2 separate regions of the Homo sapiens genome follow, and region 1 is linked to region 2. The links are contacts of gene promoters, found by promoter capture Hi-C in blood cells and fetal thymus (Javierre and others, 2016). All regions are on one chromosome and are shown on one strand. The core of a region is centred on a gene start or on the middle of the fragment in contact, and the rest is flanking DNA. Distances in the headings are between cores, read along the strand shown. Region 1 has its middle 24 kb from the start of ZBED1. Region 2 holds the start of P2RY8 (P2Y receptor family member 8).

Region 1 (2,731 bases), core at 196-2,695, 990 kb before region 2:
ACCGCCCTCATGATTCAGTTATCTCCCACCTGGTCCCTCCCACACCACGTGGGAAATACGGGAGCTACAATTCAGATGAGATTTGGGTGGGGACAGTCAAACCATATCACCAACATTCTTCCGTGCCCTTAAATTCCAGAGGATTCCTCCAATATGTGTCTATTTTTCCCAAGTCAAGTCTAAACACACTACCTCTAAGGCAAACCTTCACCTAACTAGGCTTAACTCAACAGCTTAACTTTGTTGACATATGTATTTATGGATTTCTAGAAAAAAATTTTTAAAGGAATTTTGTTGTCGTTGTGGTAAAATAACACTATGGAAGGTAACCCAGGCATGGATATGTGATGAAATATAAGAAAAAAATAACTCTATCACCCAGGCTGGGTGCAGTGGCTCATGCCTATAACCCCAGTGCTTTGGGAGGCCAAGGTGGGAAGATTGCTTGAGCCCAGGAGTTCAAGACCAGCCTGGGCAACATAGTGAGAACCCCCAGCTCTACAAAAAATAAAAAAATTTAGCTGAGTATGGTGAGTGCTTGTCTATAGTTCCAGCCACTCAGGAGGCCGAGATGGAAAGACAAACTGACCCCAGGGGTTTGAGGCTGCAGTAAGGTGTGAGTGTGCCACTGCACTCCAGCCTGGGTGATAGAGCAAGACCCTGTCGAGAAGGAAGGAAGGGAGGGAGGGAGGGAAGAAAGAAGGAAAGAGAGGGTGAGAGAGAGAGAGGAAGGGAGGAAGAGAGTGAGGAAAAAGGAAAGGGGAGGAGAGGAGAGGAAATGGGAGGGAAGCGAAGACTAACCTACAATGTCTGGGGGAATAACAGACACACTGTGTGTAAGATGCCAATAAAAGTGCTAAATACCACATTTTTCATGGGAAAATAATTATTAGAGTAATTCCACCAATTTTAAAGTGAAGCGTTGACATGTATCGCACATCACAAAAATCACATTTAGTATTTATTGAACACTTACTGCATACAATCATTATGGTTGATATTTCACAGAATATCACTTACGTAATTTCAAAAACCTCACGTTTACAATGTTATCTCCGTGTCAGGGAGGATGACACAGGACCCAAGAGGATCAAAAATATGCAGATTCCCCAGAAACTCATGCTGGAAAGATTGCATTTTTATTATGATGATTGTATTCATTTCTTTTAAATAATGATATTTGAATGCAGTGATATTTTAAACACTGGGTGATCTGTGATGCTTCTCCTATAAACTTGTTTCACAGAAAACCAGCTTACCCAGGTATAGGCTCAGTTTTTAGAGTATTGCAGTCAGCACAGTTTCTGAAGACAGAATCAATCTGGGACACTTCTGCATTGAATAAAAGATGAACTGACATGTCGCCTCTGCTATCAGAGTCTCCTTGGGCGAAATAGTGAATCAGGGCATGTTGAACGAACATAGGTCTTTTGGGGCTCTGTAATGCTGCCTGCTGCTATAATATTTACAGATTCTCATGCATAGAGTTAGAAGAGATTGAGGAGATCGTTGGAGGGTTTTTGTTTGTTTGTTTTTTGTTTTTGTTTTTGTTTTGACACAGAGTCTTGCTTTGTCTCTAGGCTGGAGTACAACGGCACGATCTCAGCTGACTACAATCTCCACCTCCGGATTCAAGCGATTCTCCTGCCTCAGCCTCCCGAGTAGCTGGGACTACAGGTACACACCACCACACATGGCTAATTTTTGTATTTTTAGTAGAGATGGGGTTTCACCTTGTTGGCCAGGCTGGTCTCAAACTCCTGACCTCAGGTGATCCACCTGCCTCAGCCTCCCAAAGTGCTGGGATTACAGGGCATGAACCACTGTGCCCGGCCCTTTGAGGGGTTTTTAATCTGTAGTTTATTGAGAGGAACTTGAATCTTAATCTTGATTCTTTAACAGAGTGCAATTTGACATTTAATGTCGATTTAAGTTACATTTTTTGTTTCAGAATGATTTCAGATTTGCAGAAAAGTTTCAAACATACCACAAGGAGCTCTTTTATACCCCCGTCATAAACATCTTCAATTAGTACGGTGCATTTGTGGCAATTAACCAACCACTCTTGATACATTACTATTAACCAGCCCATACCCTATTCAGATTTCTTTAGTTTTTTTCTAATGTTTAGGATCCCATCCAGGGTCTGTCAGTCAAGAAAATTAGAAGACAATTGTCAATCATTTTAGGAAGTTTATTTGCCAAAGTTAAGGATGCGCACCTGTGACACAGCCTCATGGGGTCCTGATGACATGTGCCCTAGGTGGTCGGGGCACAGCTTGGTTTTATACATTTTAGGCACACATGAGCCATCAATCAATATATGTAAGAAGTCCATTGGTTCCTTCCAGAAAGGCGGGGACAACTGGAAGCAGAGAGGGAGCTTCCAGGTCACAGGTAGGTGGGAAACATATGGTTGCTTCTTTTGAGTTTCTGATTAGCCTCTCCAAAGGAGGCAATTAGAATATGCGTCTATCTCAGTAAGCAGAGGGGTGACCTTGAATAAAATGAGAGGCCGATTTGCCCTGGGCACTTCCCAGCTTGTCGGGGCCCGGGTTAGTTTCCTTTCACAGGCCCCACAGTTCCACAGGGTGTTTAGTTATTACTTCTACCTGGGTTCCCTCTTGGCTGGGACAGTTTTCCAGACGTTTCTTGATTCAGATGAATGACCTGGACAGCTTTGAAAAGCACTGGGCAAGCCTTTTGACGGAAGTCCTTTTATTGGGATTTT
Region 2 (3,118 bases), core at 42-2,541:
CGACTTTTTTTTTTTTTTTGAGACAGTCTCACTCTGTTACCCAGGCTGGAGTGCAATGGCCTGATCTTGGCTCACTGCAACCTCCAGCTCCCGGGTTCAAGTGATTCTCCTGCCTCAGCCTCCCCAGTAGCTAGGATTACAGGCATCCACCACCATGCCCAGCTAATTTTTGTATTTTTAGTAGGGACGGGATTTCGCTATGTTGGCCAGGCTGGTCTCGAACTCCTGACCTCAAGTGATCCACCCGCCTTGGCCTCCCAAAGTGCTGGGATTATAGGCGTGAGCCAGCAGGCCTGGTCTTTTTGTTTGTTTGTTTGTTTTTTGGGACAGTCTCACTGTCACCCAGACTGGAGTGCAATGGCCTGATCTTGGCTCACTGCAACCTCCACCTCCCAGGTTCAAGTGATTCTCCTGCCTCAGCCTCCCCAGTAGCTGGGACTACAGGTGTCCACCACCACACCCAGCTAATTTTTGTGTTTTTAGTAGGGACGGGATTTCGCCATGTTGGCCAGGCTGGTCTCAAACTCCTGACCTGAAGTGATCCACCCGCCTTGGCCTCCCAAAGTGCTGGGACTACAGGCGTGAGCCACCACACCCAGCCTGGCTTGAGGGATTGATTCTACCATGTCTTTTCCCTGAGCAGTGGTTCAATATTCATTCATTCTTTCTCAGTGACAGATCCTTCCCTCTCAACCTCCTCCCACGAGTGACAAGAACCAACCGTTGCTCCTCACAAGCAAGGATACCAGAGCTCGGAAACCTGGTTCTCATTCCTGAAACTGGCCGATCCCCCATGGGATGTTGAGGATATGAGCCTGCAGCGCCCGTGACCAACTGTGAGAGCCGGAATGATCAGTGCCCAAGGTCTGTTCGCTTGTCACAGTCTGGCTGTGTACCAAGAGATGTCGCAATGAGCACAGCTTTAGAGTCTAAAAGGAAACGTGTTCTGTTCTTTCTTTGTTTTGTTTTGTTATTTCAGAAGAAACAGGAATCGGTTCTGGAGCATGCCACGGCTCTTCACTGCTGGTTACAAAATTTAGAAAAATCATTCTCCCTCTTTTCCTCACTCTCAGGGTTCTCTTAAGAGTAGGGCCCCCTGCGAGCCAGTGATAGGGAGGTGGGCGGTTAACGGTGCTGCCCAGAGACACAGCGACGTTACTCCAGTGGGCTCAGCCCTGCACATGAGTGTTCAGACAGTTACAGAGGAAATGTCACAACACACTTCCTTTCCACCTAAGCCTGAGTCGCAACCGTGGTGGTGCGCTGGGAGGTGGAGTTTGCAGAATTTGCATTCGGAGACAGTCGTGCCAGCCGGTGGGCCACCCAGCGAAGCGGCCGCCTTTGCAAGGTTGCTGGACAGATGGAACTGGAAGGGCAGCCGTCTGCCGCCCACGAACACCTTCTCAAGCACTTTGAGTGACCACGGCTTGCAAGCTGGTGGCTGGCCCCCCGAGTCCCGGGCTCTGAGGCACGGCCGTCGACTTAAGCGTTGCATCCTGTTACCTGGAGACCCTCTGAGCTCTCACCTGCTACTTCTGCCGCTGCTTCTGCACAGGTGAGCCGCCGAGCTGGACTTTTATGCTTGTCCTGCACTGTCAAGGGAGAAGACAGGGTCGCTGGGAGGGTCCGTGTACGGTGAGAACATGGGGGAAGACGGTGCAAACTCCATGAGGCGTGTTCTCCTCACGCTAGAGCAGACCAGGAGTGCAAATTTCCTGGGAGGAAGACTTTGCACAGCCGCTTCGTCACTTAGGGGAGAAATGCTCAAATTTTCCAGGGCTGCAAGCCACCCTTCCTTTAATAACTCATTCCATGAACTTTCAGAGGCCGAGGTGGGCGGATCACGAGGTCAGGAGTTCGAGACCATCCTGGCTAACACGGTGAAACCCCGTCTCTACTAAAAATACAAAAATTAGCCAGGCGTGGTGGCAGGTGCCTGTAATCCCAGCACTTTGGGGGACCGAGGTGGGTGGATCATCTGAGGTCAGGAGTTCGAGACCATCCTGGCTAACACGGTGAAACCCCGTCTCTACTAAAAATACAAAAATTAGCTGGGCTTGGTGGTGGGCGCCTGCGGTCCCAGCTACTCGGGAGGCTGAGGCAGGAGAATGGCATGATCCCTGGAGGTGGAGCTTGCAGTGAGCAGAGATCACGCCACTGCACTCCAGCCTGGGCGACAGAGCGAGACTCTGTTTAGAAAAAAAAAAACAAAAAAAAACTCATTCCATGAAATGCGCCTCTCTTGAGGTTAACCTTAGAGAGGGTAAGCAGCTGCGGCTGCTGCACGTAACCCATTTACGCCTGAGATTGCAGTTTTTTCAATGTTTGCAATGAGACCTTGGCGATGACCTTGAGCCGTGGGATATAAATAACTCCCAAATGCTTAGCGTTCCAATAATGGAAGAGTAAGCATAAATTAAACGGGTTTTAAAGCCCTATGGGTGCCTGGATGAGCACGGTGGCCCCTCGTCACCCCCTCGGTGCCAGGGAGACCCCAGACCCGGGTCTCACGGCCACCTCAGACCTCATTTGTACAGGTCCGCTTAGAAACCCCAATTCCTTGGGTCTTGTCAGATCTGTCCCCTAAAAAGCTGAGAAAAGGCAGAGGGAGCTGCTCTGGGAATTTCAGGCCACACACAACAAGGCCTGCTGTGGCGCTTTAGGTCCCATTTCTATAAAGGGGAACCATGGTCACGTGGCTCTGTTCCCAAAAAGAAAAGGGTTTGTGTGTGTGTGTGTGTGTGTGTCTGTGTGTGTGTCTGTGTGTGTGTGTGTGTGTGTGGTTGTTTCTTCCCATGTTGTTATCTTTACGTAACGTGGATGAGAAGTCTGAAGCGCGAGAGCCCTAAGTGAAAACCGCTGAGGAGCTGAAGCCCGTGGGGAAGCAGGTGCACCTGACTGCGCCGTTCAATCTCTCCTTCCCGTTCCGTTCCTCCTTGCATAGCCCACTTGACTTTGGCAAGCAGCGCCAGATAGTAGCATATTTTGTGTTTACGGCGGTGACAGACGCCTGTAATCCCAGCACTTTGGGAGGCCGAGGTGGGTGGATCACTTGAGGTCAGGGGTTTGAGACCAGCCTGGCCAACATAGTGAAACCCCGTCTCTACTAAAAATACCA

Evidence for each region. The method cuts DNA at HindIII sites, captures the fragments that hold promoters and counts their contacts. A CHiCAGO score of 5 or more calls a contact.
Region 1: a contact is called between a fragment that was not itself captured here and the fragment with the promoter of P2RY8 in region 2, in 1 of 17 cell types (total B cells). The highest score is 5.0, in total B cells.

What each region holds. Positions count from the first base shown.
Region 1 is chrX:2,523,799-2,526,529 of GRCh38, reverse strand. No RefSeq gene overlaps it. Among named protein-coding and RNA genes, the nearest start is that of ZBED1, 24 kb to the right of the region's middle. The HindIII fragment of the contact is 8,308 bases long and covers 1-2,731 here.
Region 2 is chrX:1,535,358-1,538,475 of GRCh38, reverse strand. It overlaps P2RY8 (P2Y receptor family member 8), which reads left to right and starts at 1,291. Exons shown (of 2, transcript NM_178129.5): 1 at 1,291-1,555. The HindIII fragment of the contact is 32,946 bases long and covers 1-3,118 here.